2 separate regions of the Homo sapiens genome follow, and region 1 is linked to region 2. The links are contacts of gene promoters, found by promoter capture Hi-C in human tissues and cell types (Jung and others, 2019). All regions are on one chromosome and are shown on one strand. The core of a region is centred on a gene start or on the middle of the fragment in contact, and the rest is flanking DNA. Distances in the headings are between cores, read along the strand shown.

Region 1 (4,553 bases), core at 166-2,665, 550 kb after region 2:
TCATATGGTTTTTATCCTTCATTCTGTTGATATGATGTATCACACTGATTGATCTGTGTATGTTGACCATCCTTGCATCCTTGCATACCAGGGATAAATCCCACTTCGTCCTGATAAAATGATCTTTTTAATGTATTGTTGAATTCAGTTTGCTAGTAATTTTGTTGAGGATTTTTGTATCAATATTCATCGGAAATCTTGGCCTTTAGTTTTATTTATTTATTTTTAATGTGTCTTTGATTTTGGTATCAGGGTAACTCTGGTCTCACAGAATGAGTTTGGAAGTATTTCCCTCTCCTCTATTTTTTGAAACAGTTTGAATAGGATTGGTATTAGTTCTTCTTTAAATGCTTGGTAGAATTCAGCAGTGAAGCTGTCAGGTCCCAGGCTTTTCTTTACTGGGAGACTTTTTATTAAAGCCTCAATCTTGTTACTGTTATTGATCTCATTAGGCTTGAATTTCTTCCTGGTTAAATCTCGGTTAGGTTGTGTGTATCTAGGAATTTGTTCATTTCTTTTAGATTTTCCAATTTATAGGCATATAGTTGCTCATCATAGCCACTAATAATCATTTGAATTTCTGCAATATCAGTGTAATGTCTCCTTTTTCATTTCTGATTTTATTTATTTGGATCTTCTCTCTTTTTTTCTTAGTCTGGCTAAAGGTTTGTCAATTTTGTTTAACTTTTCAAGAAACCAACTTTTTGTTTCATTGATTTTTGTATTGTTTTTTCATTTTAATTTCATTTACTTCTGCTCTGATCTTTATTATTTCTTTTCTTCTAATTTTGGGTTTAGTTTGCTCTTGATTTTCTTGTTTTTAATATGCATTGTTAGGTTGTTTGTTTGAAGTTTTCTCTTTTTGGATGTAGGCACTTATAACGATAAAATTCCCTCTTAGAACTGCTGTATCCCGTAAGTTTTGGTATGTTGTGCTTCCATTATCATTTGTTTCATGAAATTTTTAAATTTCCTTCTTGATTTCTTTATTGACTGGTCATTCAGGAGTATATTGCTTAATTTCCATGTTTCTTTTTTATAGTTTCCAAGATTCCTCTTGTCATTGATTTCTAGTTTTTCTAGAGAAGAAGCTTGATATTACTTCAATTTTTTGAATGTTTTAAGACTGTCTTGTGACCTCGCAAATGGTCTATACTTGAGAATGATCCATGTGTTGAGGAAAAGAATATGTATTCTGCAGCTCTTACATGAAATGCTCTGTAAATATCTATTAGATCCATTTAGTCTATAGTGCAGATTAAGTCTGATGTTTCTTTGTTGATTTTCTGTCTGGAAAATCTACCCAATGCTGAAAGGGGGATGTTGAAGTATCCAGCTATTATTGTATTGGGACCTATCTCTCTTTTTGGCTCTGATAATAGTTCCTTTACATATCCAGGTGCTCCAGTATTGGGTGTGTGTGTGTATGTGTGTGTGTGTGTGTATGTGTGTGTGTGTGTGTGTGTGTGTGTGTATATATATATATATTTTTTTTTTTTTTTAGTTGGAGTCTTGCTCTGTCACCTAGGCTAGAGTGCAGTGGTGCAATCTTGGCTCACTGCAACCTCCACCTCCTGGGTTCAAGTGATTCTCCTTTCTCAGCCTCCCAAGTAGCTGGGATTACAGGCACATGCCACCACACCCAGCTAATTTTTGTATTTTTGGTAGAGAGGGGTTTTCACCATGTTGGCCAGGCTGGTCTCGATCTCCTGACCTCAGGTGATTTGCCCACCTCAGCCTCCCAAAGTGTGTGCCTCACAAAGGTGTGAGCCACTGTGCCTGACCGGGTGCATGTGTATTTAAAATTATTATACCCTCTTCCTGAATTGACTCCCTTATCATTATAGAGTGACCTTTGTCTCTTCTTGTTGTTTTTATCTTGAAATCTATTTTGTCTGATATAAGTATAGTGACTCCTGCTCTTTTTTGGTTGCCATTGGCATGGAATATCTTTTTCCATCCCTTTCTTTTCAGTCTGTGTGTGTCTTCATAGGTGAAGTGTGTCTTGCAGGCAACAAATCAATGGGTCTTGTTTTTTCATCCATTTAGTTGGTCTGCGTGTTTTGATTGCAGAGTTTGGTCCATTTGCATTCAATGTTATTATTGATAAGTAAGGACTTACTCCTGTCATTTTATTCTTTGTTTTCTAGTTGTTTTGTGGTCTTTTCTTCCTTTTTTCTTTCCCTCCTGTCTTCCTCTAGTGAAGGTGATTTTCTCTGGTGATGTGATTTAGTTTCTTGCTTTTTATTTTTTGTGCATCCCTTATATGCTTTTTGCTTTGATGTTACCATGAGGCTTGCAAAGATTATCTTATAACCTGTTGTCTTAATGTGATAACAACTTAGCATTATTTGCATAAGCACACAAACCAGCAAAAAGAAAACTAATAACTATATGCCTTAACTTCATCCCCCCCACTTTTTAACTTTTTGTTGTTTCTATTTATATCTTATTGTACTGATTATGTCTTGAAAAGTTGTTGTAGTCATTATTTTTGACTGGTTCATTATTTAGTCTTTCTACTTAGGGTAAGAATAGTTTATACACCACAGTTACAGTGTTATAATACTCTGTGTTTTTCTGTGTACTTACTATTGCCAGTGTGTTTTGTAACTTCCAGTGATTTTTTATTGCTCGGTAATGTTCTTTTCTTGCTGACTGAAGTATTCCCTTTAGCATTTCTTGTAGGACAGGTATGGTACTGATGAAATCCCTCAGCCTTTGTTCATTTGGGAAAGTCTTTATTCTCCTTCATGTTTGAAAGATATTTTCACTGGACATACTATTCTAGATTAAAAGTGTTTTTTCTCCTTCAGCATATTAAATATGTCATACCACTCTTTCCAGGCCCATAAAGTTTCCACTGAAAACTCTGCTGCCAGATGTATTGGAGCTCCATTGTATGTGATTTGTTTCTTTTCTCTTGCTACTTTTAGGCTCATTTCTTTATCTTTGACCTTTTGGAGTTTACTAATTAAATTCCTTGAAGTAGTCTTTCTTGGGTTAAATCTTCTTGGTTTAAGATGTGTTCCATAACCTTCCTGTACTTGGATATTGATATGTTTCTCTAGGTTTGGTATATTCTCTGTTATTTTCCCTTTGTTTTGTTTGTTTGTTTATTTGTTTTGATGGAGTCTTGCTCTGTTGCCCAGGCTGGAGTGCAGTGGTGCAATCTCAGCTCTCTGCAACTTCCTCCTCCTGGGGTCAAGCGATTCTCATGCCTCAGCCTCCCAAGTAGCTGGGATTATGGAAACACGCCACCACGCTAAGCTAATTTTTGTATTTTTAGTAGAGATGGGGTTTCACCATGTTGGCCAGGCTGGTCTTGAACTCCTGACCTCAAGTGATCCAAATGCCTTGGCCTCCCAAAGTGCTAGGATTGCAGGCGTAAGCCACCATGCCTGGCCAGTTATTTTCCCTTTGAATAAACTTTCTAATCCTACCTCTTTATCTACCTCCTCTTTAAGGCCAATAACTCTTAGATTTGCCTTTTGAGGCTATTTTCTAGATACTGTAGGTGTGATTCATGGTTTTTTATTCTTTCTTATGTCTCCTCTGACTGTATTTTCAAATAGGCTGCCTTCAAGCTCACTACTTCTTTCTTCTGCTTGATCAATTCTGCCACTAAAGGACTCTGATGCATTCTTCAGTATGCCAATTGAGTTTTTCAGCTCCAGATTTTCCCCTTGATTCTTTTTAATTATTTTAATCTCCTTGTTAAATTTGTCTTCTGAATTCCTTCTTTGTGTTATCTTGAATTTCTTTGAGTTTCCTCAATACAGCTATTTTGAATTATCTTTCTGAAAGATCACACATCTCTGTTTCTCCAGGATTGGTCCCTGGTGCCTTATTTAGTTCATTTGGTGAGGTCATGTTTTCCTGGATTGTGTTGATACTTGTAGATGTTCTTCAGCATCTGGACATTGAAGAATTAGTTATTTATTTTGGTCTTCACAGTCTGGACTTGTTTGTGCCCGTCCTTCTTGGAAAGGTCTTCCAGGTGTTTGAAGGGACTTGACTGTTGTGTTCTAAGCTGTAGCTGTTTTAGGGGGAACCCCAAGCTCGCTAGTGCTGTGATTCTTCCAGACTCATAGAGGTACCACCTTGATGGTCTTGGACATGATCCAGGAGAATTCTCTGGATTACCAGGCAGAGGCTCTTGCTCTCTTCCCTTACTTTCTTCCAAACAAAGTCTCCCTCTGTGTCCTGAGCCACCCGAAGCTAGGGATGAAGTGACACAAGCACCCCTGTGGCCACCACTACTCTGACTGTGCTGCATCATACTGGAAGGCAGCACAGCACTGGGTCTTGCCCAAGTCCTGCTGTAACCACTCCCTGGCTACTGCTTATGTTCATTCAAGGCCCTGGGGTTTTATGATCAACAGGTAGCAAAGCCAGCCAGAGCCGGGTCTTTCCCTTCAGGGTGGTGAGTTCCCCTGGGCCCTGGGTAGGTCAGTAGATGCTGTCCAGCAGCCAGGGACTACAGTCAAAACCACTAGAAGTCCACCTGGTGTTCTACTGTACTGTGGCTGAGTTGTCACTCAAACCACAAG
Region 2 (5,021 bases), core at 70-2,569:
CAGCATCTAGTAGATGTTTCTTGCTTCTTCCCCCTAACGCCGGACTAAAGAGAAAAAAAAAATAGGCTGTTTTCTGGTCTGGTTTTGTTTTCCTAGTCAAGTACTTAAATTACGGGTGTTTCGTAAGTATCTTTTGATGGATTTCATTGTTTTGTTTATTTCGCGTTAGACAATACAGACACCTTCATATTTCCTTCTGTAGCAAATCTTTTTCAAAGTCTTCATTTGACGTGGCTGATGGAGCTGGTCTGCAGATCTTGCAGACGTGTTAATTTTTGCACGGACTTTAGCTTCAACACACAAAACTTACGGCCTCTTTGAGGAACCAATTTTTCAGGCTAAGAGAACAAATGAAAGTGTTCGCTCATCTTTCGAAAACTATTTATGTACTTGGTATCCGGAATGTGACATTGGTTTTACACGTCGGTAGGTTTTTGTCCTAAATTTCTGGGAAGTTACTTCCTCATCTAACGTTTTATTTTCCTGACTTATTCGTCTTTGATATGCTACAGAAAACCCCTCTCGCCCAGTGGCTGTTTTCTCTCTGTCTCTTAAGATAATTTAGGAACAGAAGCCTTGACTTTTGACGGTCATTTAGTTTTATTCTCCTCCCGTGACTCCCCTCTGTACACTCACAGGGGAGGCCGCCGGCATCTGGGCTGAAAGAACCCTTGGCGGGCGAGGAGAGCAGGGTGTCATGTTGGCGACAGGCTCCTGCTGGCGGCCAGCGAGCCCGCCAGGTTAACGGGGGCGCCGGGGTCAGCGCCCTCGAAGTTGGGGGCCTCGGGCGGGGCCGCCGGGGAGCCACGACGGCCGCTCGACCAGAGCATCCCGCAGTCCCGTTCCCTCCAGAGGGGAAGAATGGCCGAATCTGGCACGATCCCACGGAGATCTCGCTCTTCCCAGCGCAGTCTCCGCTACTGAGCGCGGGACCAACGCAGGCGATGCCGGGCGGCCGACAGGGAAAGCCCAGACCTGGGGCAGAGAAGGAATGAGGGGCCGCCAGCCGGGGGGATTTCCTCCCGCTCTTCCCTCTCCAACGGGAGCGGAAAATGTGATTTGCTGTGCATTCCAGGCGCGGTTCCCTGGGGTGACCTCTCCCAGCCGGCCCGGGCGGGGGGAGCAGACAAAGAGGCGAGGCGGGCGGAGAGGGGACCCCGCGGGGAAGCAGGAGGGGTGCGGGGGGCGGGGGCAGTACCGGGAAAGGGGGCGGATAGCGGGTCTGGCGGCGGCGGCGGCGCCTGGCCAATGGAGAGGCGCGGCCCCGGGCGCCGCGCTCTGCCGCCGGCATTTAAACGGGAGACGGCGCGATGCCTGGCACTCGGTGCGCCTTCCGCGGACCGGGCGACCCAGTGCACGGCCGCCGCGTCACTCTCGGTCCCGCTGACCCCGCGCCGAGCCCCGGCGGCTCTGGCCGCGGCCGCACTCAGCGCCACGCGTCGAAAGCGCAGGCCCCGAGGACCCGCCGCACTGACAGGTGAGCGCGGACGCACCCGGCAGGGATGTGAGTGGGCGGAGGGAAGAGGGCCGCAAACCAACCCAGGACCCGCTCAGTTCCACGCGCGGCAGCCCTCCGTGCGCGCAGGCTCGGGTGCGTTGTTCGCGGGGGTGAATTGTGAAGAACCATCGCGGGGTCCTTCCTGCTGAGGCCGCGGACACCGTGACCTCGCTGCTCTGGGTCTGCAGGGAAACGTAGGAAAAAAAGTTGTCAGGAGCGGGCAGGATGACCCCCACATCCCGTTTCCACCTCCCGGAGGCCCCCGAACACGCTCCTGGTGCTGGTGGCAGCAGCGCCTGGCAGACGCGCCCGCTTAGCGAGGGCGCGAAGTCCAGGCCGCCAGAGCGCAGGAGCATCCGGACCTGCTAGTCGGCCGCTGACTGCGCGGCGAGTTGCCTTGAGAGGGTCCCATGTGCTTGGGGCGCCGCGCTGGGTCTGGGGGCGTCTTGGGGCGCCCATTGGAGTCCGCGGGTTGGAGCATCCGGAGAATCCATGATGTGTGCATTTGCCGATCCCCGAGGTGAGATGGAGACTGGCAAGGGCAGAGCCGCTGTGTTCAGCCACAGCGGAAAACCGAACGGTGGGTAATCCGACAGCTGCGGTGCGGGGCGCGGCCCTGGCCGCGGGGTCCAGCGAACCCGCAGTGCTCACAAGGCAGACACCACACGCGCTCGCGGACCGGCCACGCACTCGCGGGCGCTCGCTTCTCTACTCCAGCCTCTTCCCCGCCCCGCGCACGCCCGGGCTGAATGGTAGACGTTCTGGCGCCGGGCAGCGGCCACCGGCTGGTTCCCACTTCCGCGCGCACCCCTTAAACTGTGTTCTAGAGGCCCCAGCCTCGCCTTGCAGCGCCTCACTAGCTCCTGAGGACTAGGGACTGGCGGCTGAGGCGGGTTGGCGGCTGCAACGAGCTGGGCGTCTTTCGTTCTCTCTCGCTGCCTGGCTGGCTCCGCTGGCCCCTCCACAGCTTGCGGAGCAAGGCCATAGCAGGGGAGTGGGAGGTATATTGGGGCTGTCACCTCCTTGCTGGCCGGAGTTATTTGTAGACTACAGACTCCGGAAGAACAGACGCGCCACCGCTCTCGCTTGGCATTGCCTTCGGATCGCAGCTCCTCCTTGGGGGTGCCCCAGCTTGGCGTTTATTTGCCTGCGCCAGGCTCTGGCGACGGTCACCGGGCCAGGCGGGGAGGGACGGACGGCAGGTGACCAGCCTCTGCTGTGAAGAAATTCCTGCGCGCCCGGAGCTGTCCCTAATGCATTCCCGGGTCGAATCCGTCTACTGCCTTCCCCTCCTCGACCGACTCCGAATCTCGGCTCTTATAGACAGAAATACAGCCTCAGCGTTAGGGGTTAAAATCCCCCTCTTAAACGGTCCGAGGGCAGAGAGGTGACCACCGATAGGTAATTGGATCTCCTGCTGGAAAGAGCAAATCTGAGCGGTGTGCGCGTCTGTTTATGTTCCCCTTCGAGATGGTGCCAGGACACGAACTGATTAAAACAATCTATTGTGTTAAGTGGGTCACTAGGGTTTTAAGCTGTCCCAGGGACCCCAGAGTAGTGGCTTCCTTCTGGCTGTACACACAAGTTAAATAAATAGCGTAGAAGAGGTTAAGATAACCCCATTCTAGGGTGAGGAGTCCTCTTTCATCCCTAGGGCTTCCCCCTCCCCTTTTCTCTTTTTTTGGAAGGAGGGGGAGCATGAGAGTCTTGAGGGGGGGATGTACTTTTCAAAGCAAGGAGGGAAAGATCTTAAGAAAACTATATATTCTCACTGCCCCCCAAGCCAAGTCTATAACAGTAGGTGATTTGATTACTATCTCTGGATAAATGGCACTGTCAAATTGTTAATATTAACTATTTCAGGGATTTTTAGCAGGGTAGTGGCAGTATGTGTGCGTGTGTGTGTGTGTGTCTGTGTGTGTGTGTTTAACCTCCAGGTCATTGTAGGAATTAGAGTCTTTTGTAAACTTTGTAATTTCACAGGTTTCCTATTTTCTTAAAAGTTCATTTTTAGTGAAATGTTTTGGTAACCCACGCTCTGTAGGAAATCCAGGTTGGCTAATGCGGTCTTTATGTGAGTAGTTACACAGGGAAGGATAAAAACCTTTTATGTCCTACATCTCTGAATGAGGGCTGCCTACCCTGTCTTTGAAACTAAGCCGAAGATGCCTTCAGTCTGAATGGTCAAGTATTAAAAGTGATAAAATGCAAAGAAATTTCATGCCGCAGACACCTCCCCCAAGAACTGCTTGTTGACAGCAAAGCTGTGGAACATGTTCCACAACAGAGAGTAAAGGACAGCCAGGAAATATAAACCTTTTATGTAAAGGAAAGGCAGGTGGGGGACAGTGGTTAGGGGAGGTGACTGCAGCCTCTAACCAAAAGGCAACCATCAGGCAAGTGCTACCAGCCCGTGTCTTCGATCTGCAAGGAATTTTCTTTAGTTTTAACATATGCTCTTAGAAATTCAAAGTACAACAGGAATTCCTGGGACAAGAGAAATCTTTTTATTCACATGTGAACATGAAGATACAAAATAGATAATTATTTTATTTATAGCACTCTTCAAATTGTATTGCATTAGAAAACATATCCATTGACCCACTGTTAAGGACAGCACTGGGTGTCAATAGGACAGTGGTTAAGGACCTGTGTTTGGGGCTAGATAGAATTGGGTTTAAACTGCTGGCTGGGCTAGGCACAGTGGCTCACACCGGTAATCCCAGCACTTTGGGAGGCCAAGGAGGACGGATCACCTGAGGTCGGGAGTTCGACACCAGCCTGACCAACATGGAAAAATCCCGTCTCTACTAAAAACACAAAATTAGCCAGGCATGGTGGTGCATGCCTGCAATCCCAGCTACTTGGGAGGCTGAGGCAGGAGAATTGCTTGAAACCGGGAGGCGGAGGTTGTGGTGAGCCCAGATAGCGCCATTGCATTCCAGCCTGGGCAACACGAGTGAAAACTCCGTCAAAAAAACAAAACAAAACAAACAAACAAAAAAATGCTGGCTTTCCCACTTATGAGCTGTGTGACCTTGGACAAATTTCCAACTTTTCTGAGTGTAGATTCCCTGATTGGTAAAAGGAAGATGATATTATCTACCTCATATTTTGTTATGAAAAATAAATGATAAAATTGGGTCAGAAATCAGCATAATGCCTGGCACAGTAAGGGCTTCAAAATAAAAGGTAGCTCTTATTATTAGTAATGGTGTTAGGAAAAGTAGCAATGTTATACAGAACCAGGATATATCACAGGGCAGTTCTGAAATTAAATCCTGAATCCTGGCCGGGTGAGGTGGCTCACGCTTGTAATCCTAAGCACTTTCGGAGACTGAGGCAGGCGGATCACGAGGTCAGGAGTTTGAGACCAGCCTGGCCAAGACACTGAAATCCCGTCTCTACTAAAAATACAAAAATTAGCTGGGTGTGGTGGCAGGCGCCTATAATCTCAGCTACTTGGGAGGCTGAGGCAGGAGAATCACTTGAGCCCAGGAGGCGGAGGTTGCAGTGAGCTGAT

Evidence for each region. The method cuts DNA at HindIII sites, captures the fragments that hold promoters and counts their contacts. A contact is called where the count stands out against the background at its distance.
Region 1: a fragment that was not itself captured here is called in contact with the fragment with the promoter of GREM1 in region 2 in 1 of the 25 tissues and cell types used here (spleen).

The regions. Positions count from the first base shown.
Region 1 is chr15:33,270,497-33,275,049 of GRCh38, forward strand. No RefSeq gene overlaps it. Among named protein-coding and RNA genes, the nearest start is that of RYR3-DT, 38 kb to the right of the region's middle. The HindIII fragment of the contact is 3,414 bases long and covers 1-3,122 here.
Region 2 is chr15:32,716,685-32,721,705 of GRCh38, forward strand. GREM1 (gremlin 1, DAN family BMP antagonist) reads left to right here and starts at 1,320. Exons shown (of 2, transcript NM_013372.7): 1 at 1,320-1,477. GREM1-AS1 (GREM1 antisense RNA 1) reads right to left here and starts at 2,181. Exons shown (of 2, transcript NR_109767.1): 1 at 1,861-2,181; 2 at 1,417-1,680. RefSeq lists enhancers at 826-1,326, 1,464-2,042, 2,043-2,620. The HindIII fragment of the contact is 12,229 bases long and covers 1-5,021 here.